Regions from separate parts of the Homo sapiens genome. Here region 1 is linked to region 2. Evidence: promoter capture Hi-C in human tissues and cell types (Jung and others, 2019). All regions are on one chromosome and are shown on one strand. Each heading gives the region's core, a stretch centred on a gene start or on the middle of the fragment in contact. The rest is flanking DNA. Distances are from core to core; before and after follow the strand shown. Region 1 overlaps LOC124904635 (a long non-coding RNA gene). Region 2 holds the start of ZNF558 (zinc finger protein 558).

Region 1 (4,074 bases), core at 551-3,050, 970 kb before region 2:
TCGTCATGTTGCCCAGGCTGGTCTTGAACTCTTGGGCTCAAGCCATCCGCCCACCTTGGCCTCCCAAAGTGCCGGGATTACAGGCATGAGCCACTGCACCCAGCCAGGATTTCTACTTTATTTACTGTTCTTGTGTAAGAACATATACTCGCCATAGATCCTGCCCTTGGACCAAAGCAGCCTTGATGTTATTGTATAAATTACAGGCTATGACACATATCACATTCTTACCTGTCTGGAGGGTTAACTTGGCCTACACATTCTTTAGGAAAAAAAGAAAAAATTTTTTTTCGAGACAGGGTCTTGCTTTGTTGCCCAGGCCAGAGCGCATCATGGCTCATCTCAGCCTTGACCTCCAGGGCTGTAGTGTTCCTTACCCTCTCAGCCACACAAGTACCTGGGACTATAGGCACATGCCACCATGCCCAGCTAATTTTTCTTTTTTTGTAGAGATGGGGTCTCACCATATTGCCCAGGCTGGTCTCAAAGTTTTGGGCTCAAGCGATCTGCCTGCCACAGCCTCCCAAAGTGCTGGGATTACAGGTGTGAACTACTCACCATGCCCAGCCCCTACAGCTTCACTGAGGTATAATTAACATGTAATAAATTGCACATATGGCCGAGCGCGGTGGCTCACGCCTGTAATCCCAACACTGGGAGGCAGAGGCAGGCGGATCACCTGAGGTCGGGAGTTCGAGACCAGCCTGACCAACATGGAGAAACCCCGTCTCTACTAAAAATACAAAATTAGCCGGACGTGGTGGCACATGTCTGTAATCCCAGCTACTCGGGAGGCTGAGGCAGGAGAATCGCCTGCACCTGGGAGGCGGAGGTTGCGGTGAGCCGAGTTCACACCATTGCACTCCAGCCTGGGCAACAAGAGCGAAACTCCATCTCAAAAAAAAAAAAAAAAAAAAAGTTTAAATTTACCTATAGCGTGGAAGCTTCCTGCTTTGAGTTGTCCTGCTTTTCTGGACCAAGCCAATGTATTTATTAAATGTGTTTGATTGATGTCTCATGTCTCCCTAAAATATATAAAACCAAGCTGCACCCCAACCACTTTTGTCACATGTTCTCAGGACATCCTGAGGGCTGTGTCGTGGGCCATGGTCACTCATATTTGGCTCAGAATAAATCTCTTCAAATATTTTACAGAGTTTGACTCTTTGTCAACCATTGCCTTTGCAAAAATAATAATCAGGACAGTCGAGGTGGCTCACGCCTGTAATTCCAACATTTTGTGAGGCTGAATGAACTCCAGAATGGGCAGGTCATTTGAGCCTGGGGAGGTCGAGGCTGCAGTGAGCTGTGATTGCACCTCTGCACTCTAGCCTGGGTAACAGAGTGAGACCCTGTCTCAAAAAAATATATATCAGAAAATTATGACAGTGAAAGAGATCTGAGCCAATCCACCCCCCATCTTCCCTTTCCCTTAATATTTCCTGGGCTATTGGGCTGAGGTAACTTTAAGAAACATTTAGGCTATAGTTTAGGTGATAATAAGCTTTGCCTAAAACTCAATCGCTTTGGTAAAACTAATGGGGAGCCATCAGCAGGAGAGGAGCCTGATTCCTGCAAAGGCGCAGAAATGTATGTCAGCCACTATTCCAGAGGTTATGAGATATGCAACTTCCCCAATTACTCCTGCAAATAACACCACTATTGCAGAACCCCAGATTGGCCTTTGGAGATACCCTTTCAGGTTTTATTGCATGTCTGACACCTAACACTCCTCATGGACCCGTCAACCCTGCTCCTATGGCCCCACCCAAAATCGATTCAGCCTGTAGGAGGAAGGCTTCGACCCCCCTATGATTGCATCTGCCCCAACCAATCAGCAGCAAGCACCTGTTACTCTGCCATCCCCACCCGTTCCCCCAAACTGTCTTTGGAAAACCCCTAACCTAGGAGCTTTGAGATGATTTGAGTAGGAACTTCGACTCCCACGTGGCATGGCCAGCCTCATGTCCACTAAACTCTTCCTTTACTACAATGCCATTGTCTTTCTTTATGCAGTGGGCAGGAAGAACCCTCCGGCAATTACAGCTTGAGCCCAGGAATTCGATGCCAGCCTAAGCAATGTCGACGAAAAGCGTCAAACTCTGTAAAATATTTTAAGAGATTCATTCTGAGCCAAATATGAGTGACCATGGCCGGTGATACAGCCCTCAGGAGGCCAGGAGAACATGTGCCCAAGGTGACTGGGGTGCAGTTGGTTTTGTACATTTTAGGGAGACATGAGACTTCAATCAAATACATTTAAGAAATATATTGGCCGGGCGCGGTGGCTCACGCCTGTAATCCCAGCCCTTTGGTAGGCCGAGGTGGGCGGATCACATGAGGTCAGAGTTCGAGACCAGCCTAACCAAGATGGTGAAACCCCGTCTCTACTAAAAATACAAAATTAGCCGGGTGTGGTGGCACGCGCCAGTTATCCCAGCTACTCAGGAGGCTGAGGCAGGAGAATCGCTTGAACCAGGGAGGCGGAGGTTGCAGTGAGCGGAGATGGCACCACTGCACTCCAGCCTGGGTGACAGAGCGAGACACCGTCTCAAAAAAAAAAAAAAAAAAAAAGGAAAAGAAATACATTCATTTGTTCCAGAATGGCAGGACAGCTCAAACCGGGAGCTGGGGTGGGGTGGGAGTGGGGATTCCAGCTTATAGGGAGATTAAAACTTTTTTTCTTTTTTTGAGAGGAGGCTTGAGGTTGTGGAGACCCAAGTTCTTTTTTTTTTTTTTCTTTTTTCTTTTTTGAGATGGAGTCTCGCTCTTGTTGCCCAGCCTGGAGTGCAATGGCACCATCTCGGCTCACTGCAACCTCCACCTCCCGGGTTCAAGCGATTCTCCTGGCTCAGCCACCAGAATAGCTGGGATTACAGGCGCCCGCCACCATGCCCGGCTAATTTTTTTTTTTTTTTTTTTCGGAGACGCAGTCTCGCTCTGTCGCCCAGGCTGGAGTGCAGTGGCACGACCTCAGCTCACTGTAACCTGCGCCTACCGGGTTCCAGCAATTCTCCTGCCGCAGCCTCCTGAGTAGCTAGGATTACAGGTGTGTGCCACCACGACCGGCTAATTTTTGTATTTCTAGTAGAGACGGGGTTTCGTCATGTTGGCCAGGCGGGAGACCCAAGTTCTTATTTCCAGAGGAAGCCTCCAGGTACTAGACTTCAGAGAGAATAGGTTGTAAAATGTTTATCCGACAGACCTGGGGGCGTGGCTTCCAATGAAGACCAGCCCCAGAAGGCCGGGCTGGGAGACTGCGAAGTCGGAGGGGTTGAGGGGACTTCAGGCAGAGTGGGTGGAGCAAAGGAGAGGGCTCAGGCTTGGGGGCGGGACTTGGGTGGGTCCTCCATTCTGGTTGGCCAAGCCTCTATGTCCCAAATAAAAGTCTCTACCTTCCCGAGAACTTATTACAATAGAACACCAGATTTCCAGAGGTATCTGCCAGTCCACAGAGTGAATCACGTTTCCATTCATCCCGTTTCTTCTATAGGCCCTTGAAGAGAGTTTTAACATTTTCTTCTTAAATCGGTTGTATCTTTCGGTGAGGTTAACTCCTAGAGATTACATATAAATACATTTAGGTTTTTTGCTCTTTTTTCCAACCGATGGTTATTGAGGAGTTCTGAGAGATGAGAAATGTGCTGATTTAAATCACAAATGTAGGCCAGACGCAGTCGCTCACACCTGTAATCCTGGCACTTTGGGAGGTTGAGGCAGGGTCCTTTGAGCCCAGGAGTTCTAGACCAGCCTGGGCAACATGGGGAGACCCTGTCTCTATGAAACATTAAAATTAAAATTAAAAAAAGAAAAATAAATAGCCCGGGCGCGATGGCTCAAGCCTGTAATCCCAGCACTTTGGGAGGCCGAGGCGGGTGGATCACCTGAGGTCAGGAGCTCGAGACCAGCCTGAACAATATTGTGAAACCCGCTTATACTAAAAATACAAAAAATTAGTTGGGCGTGGTGGCGGGCGCCTGTAATCCCAACTACTTGGGAGGCTGAGGCACCAGAATAGCTTGAATCCGGGAGGCGGAGGTTGCAGTGAGCCGAGATGGTGCCATTGCACTCCAG
Region 2 (4,362 bases), core at 591-3,090:
AAAGGACGGGTGCATGAAACAATATCATTCATTGAAAGTATTTCTTCCTGGCTGATTTTAAATGTTACCACTCTCTTACATAAAATTTTTTCCCTTTGCACTTACCAGTATCTTTTTTTGTTTATGGTTTTTGGTTTTTGTTTTGTTTTGTTTTTTGAGATGGAGTCTTGCTCGTCACCCGGGCTGGAGTGCACCGGCTGCAATCTCGGCTCACTTCAACCTCCACCTCCCGAGTTCAAGCTATTCTCCTGCCTCAGCCTCCCAAGTACCTGGGATTACAAGGCATCCGCCACCACGCCCGGCTAATTTTGTATTTTTAGTAGAGACGGGGTTTCACCATGTTGGCAGGCTGGTCTCGAACTCCTGACCTCAGGTGATCTGCCTGCCTCGGCCTCCCAAAGTGTTGGGATTACAAGCGTAAGCCACCAGGTCCAACCAGCACTTAGTGGTATCTAACGCACCAACCCACCATGTATTCTATTTATCACATTCACTGTCCATTTCTCCTGCCCAACTCACAACTAAAATGCACGTTCTCTGAGGGCAAGGACGTTTACCTATTTTGTTCAGTCTATATCCATGGTGTATAAAACAGAGACTTGTTGGGGGGGAGGTAATAGCATTTATTCCATGAATATGACTACGGCATACACACATACACACACATACATGTCCACACTATATCTGGAAAGATAGAGGAGAAAATTATTTTTGCCTCTGAGCAAAAGAACTGAAAGACCGTGGTGGGAGAATATTTGACTGACTTTGTACCATTCTTAAGTTTTCCTATATGTGTATCTATGACCCAGTCCTCTCCTGCTCCCCTAAACTCTTAGTGTTAAATCACTATGTTCTGCCTTGGGAAAGCAAGTTATAGACAAATGTGCATACATAATCTGATCCTATTGGGTTGTATGAACATGGGGCAGTAACTGTATCAACAATCTAGGGATCCAAGGAAGGCCCTACCCCTGAATCTGATCTCCCACAATCCTGGCTCCTGGGCCTATCCCAACCCACCCACATCATACACCCTTTTATTCATACCCAGATCCCTGCCCCTGGAACTGGTCTCCACCCACTGCCCCCTCCCCAGGCCTGGTGCAGCCCACAGTCCCGCCCCCAGAACTGGTCTCCGCCCACAGTCAGCCCCGCCCCCAGGCTTGCTGCCACCCCATAGCTCCGCCCCTAGAACTGCTCTCTGCCAATCACCACTGCCCTCCAAGACCGGTACACCCACAGCCTAGTCCCCGCCCTCCGCCCGGCCCGGAGCTTATCTCCGCCCACAGCCAGCCCCAACCTCCAGGGCTGTCACAACCACAGCCTGGTTCCCGCTCAGCCCCGCCCCGGAAATGGAGGTCTCCACCCCTGTAACTGGTCTCTGCTCAGTCATCCCCGCTCTAGAAGCCTTATACCATCCGCCCCGAGAACTGGGCCCCACCCACAGCCCCGACCCTGGAACTGGTCTCTGCCCAATCAGCCTCGCCCTCCAGGCCTGGTACGGCCTCAGCCGGTTCCCCGCCTTCAGCCCCGCCCCGGAACTGATCTCCGCCCACAACCAGCCCCGCCCCCAGGCCTCGTGCGGCTCACAGCCTGGCCCCGCCCCCAGGGCCAACCTTACCCCCGCTACTGCCCCAGGCCAGGGCCCAACTTTGTGCCCACTAAGCAAACTAGAACACCTCTGCCCAAGGCTGGGGTTCGCGGCCGCCGCTCCCGCCCGCCGCGCCTGTCGCCTAAGCGCCGAACCCCCAACACGCTCGACTCTGCGAGGCTGCCCGCGCGAGCCGGAAGGGGACGTGCAGCGCACCTCTCCCCAGACCGGAAGCGGAAGCGCGGGGCGGTACCGTGGGAGGGGCCGCGCGTGGGGCAGCGGGGAGCGAGTCCCTCCGTCCCCGCGAGTCGGCGCTTTTGGCCCCGCGGGAGGGGCCGGGCTCGGTGAGCGACTGGCGGGGGCTCGGGTCCGAGTCCAGGGGGCGACGTGGGCCGCGGACACCGCCAGCCACGGGCCCTGCGTCCCTCCAGGGAGCCGTGTTTCGGTTCATGAGGCCTCGGGCTGTGAGCTTAGGTCAGCACGAAGCTGCTGCTTGCTCCTGGGTCGGGGCCCCGCGCCGCTGTTGCCTCCTCAGGGAACCCCAGTCGCCCTCACCCGGGGCGATTCCGCACCCCAGGGGACTTTTGGCTGTAGCTGGAGACGACTGTGGTTTTCACAAATTGTGGGGAGGGGAGGCTGCTACTGTCACCTAGAGGGTGGAGGCCGGGGAAGAGGGACGCTGCTTGCTCTTAAAGATCCTACGTTGTACAGGACAGTCCCCCACAACAAAGAATTATCAGTAGTGCCAGGTTGGGAAACCCTGCTCTAGGGCCTTAAAAAAAAAATCTCTGCAGTTCTGAATAAACTACATAAATTGTTAAAAATTCAGTTTAGTCACTTAATAGGGCCTCTAAGTGACAAGATATTTTTAAAGCCTGTGGAGTCACCATAGAATCTCTCTCCAGCGTAGTAAGTTGAGCAAGTCAAATGCACACAGCGTTAAGCTGCTTTCTCCCCTCTTACGGAGCAGATGGCCAGATGGGAATCAGGTAAAGCCAGTCATGGCCCACAGGCTGGGCCCTTATTACACATTTAATCATTGAGTACCCAAAAAAAGTGAATGGGATGGTGTTTCCGGCAGCCGTATCCAACAACTGTACAACCTATACAAAGCCTCGAAAGAAATCTTTGTGTCTTTTTTTTTTTTTCAGATGAGAAAAGCATCATTCAAGCTCAGATTCGTGTTGAAGCCTGCCACAAGGTCCACCTGTTGTTGTGGGTTTTTGGGTGACCAGGTGAGTACAGTGTGGAACCTACAACAAGGTTTCAGCAGGCTCTGCTGTGTAGAAGAACTCCTCGTGGGCTTTTCCTGTGCTGGGGTTGTAACCACATTGAAGTCACTAAGAGTGAAGGTATCTTAAGGAAAGTTCAAGGTAAAAAGACAGAGGTGTTTATGGTTACATGTGTGTAAATAAGTAAATACAGTTACATGCAAATAAGTATCCACAAAACAAACATACAAATAACGTAAAGATGTGTAACTGTAGCTAAAGACAGATTTTCTGGTATGCCGTAATGCTAAAAGTTTCTGAATTTTATATAAGTATAGAAAATATTTACATGTATATGTAGTGTTACAAGTCTTCCCACTAACAACTAGCAGGACTACTTAGCAACATTTTTCAGGCCTGTTTGATTTGACTTTTTTTTTTTTTCTTGAGACCAAGTCTCACTCTGTTGGCCAGGTTGGAGTGCAGTGGCGCGATCTTGGCTCATGTCAACCTCCACCTCCCAGACTCAAGCAAATCTCCTGCCTCAGTTTCCTGAGTAGCTGGGACTACAGGCAAGTGCCACCACGCCCAGCTAATTTTGTTTGTATTTTTAGTAGAGACAGGTTTTTGCCATGTTGGCCAGGCTGGTCTTTAACTCCTGACCTCAAGTGGTCCGCCCACCTCAGCCTCCCAAAGTGCTGGGATTACAGGCAAGAGCCACCGCACCCAGCTGTTGATTTGATTTCTAAAGGCATATTGGCCCTCCACCAAACTTCAAAATATAAGGGCATTTGTAAAAAGGATGATTTATTAGTAACAAATTTAAAATTAAATTGACCGGCGACCAGATGTGTTTTGAGTAATGGGATTTTTTTTTTCCTAATGAGATTTGAAAACATTTGGAAGAATATTAAGCAACAACTTATAGATTGAAGGGTAGGGAACTGGTTTCCAAAAAGATTGTCCTCTGCACCTTGCCTCCTGTATTAGTCCTTTTTCACACTGCTATAAAGAACTACCTGAGAGTTTTCACACTGCTATAAATAACTCCCTGAGACTGAGTGACTTACAAAGGAAAGAAGTTTAATTGACTCAGTTCTGCATGGCGGGGGAGGCCTCAGGAAACTTACGATCATGGCAGAAAGCAAAGGGAAAGCAAGGCACGTCTTACATGGCAGCAGGAGAGAGAGAGAAGACATAAACGCCAAACTTCTAAACCATCAGATCTTGTGGGAACTTACTATCAGGAGAACAGCAAGGGGGAAGTCCGCCCCCATGATTCAGTCACCTCCTACCAGGACCCTCCTCTGACACATAGGGATTATTACAACTCGAGATGAGATTTGGGTGGGGGGACACAGAGCCAACGATATCACCTCCTAATAGGAATTAACTTTGTTTCTTAAAACTTCTCTGAAATAACAGTATGGTGATTCATATTGCAGAGAATCATGTTAAGTAATCTAGTATTAAATTGTGGGGTTTCTACTAATTGTGTGTGTGTTCACCTTTTCCATTCTAGCTTTCCTACAGCATTCTTGAAGGAATGTTTACTTATCA

Evidence for each region. The method cuts DNA at HindIII sites, captures the fragments that hold promoters and counts their contacts. A contact is called where the count stands out against the background at its distance.
Region 1: a contact is called between a fragment that was not itself captured here and the fragment with the promoter of ZNF558 in region 2, in 1 of the 25 tissues and cell types used here (dorsolateral prefrontal cortex).

What each region holds. Positions count from the first base shown.
Region 1 is chr19:9,801,405-9,805,478 of GRCh38, reverse strand. LOC124904635 (a long non-coding RNA gene) reads right to left here. Exons shown (of 3, transcript XR_007067134.1): 3 at 3,063-3,557. Among named protein-coding and RNA genes, the nearest start is that of FBXL12, 16 kb to the left of the region's middle. The HindIII fragment of the contact is 4,629 bases long and covers 1-4,074 here.
Region 2 is chr19:8,829,782-8,834,143 of GRCh38, reverse strand. It overlaps ZNF558 (zinc finger protein 558), which reads left to right and starts at 1,840. Exons shown (of 10, transcript NM_144693.3): 1 at 1,840-1,935; 2 at 2,743-2,826. It overlaps MBD3L1 (methyl-CpG binding domain protein 3 like 1), which reads right to left and starts at 1,767. Exons shown (of 3, transcript NM_001393532.1): 1 at 1,622-1,767. RefSeq lists silencers at 1,031-1,290, 1,791-2,060. The HindIII fragment of the contact is 13,119 bases long and covers 1-4,362 here.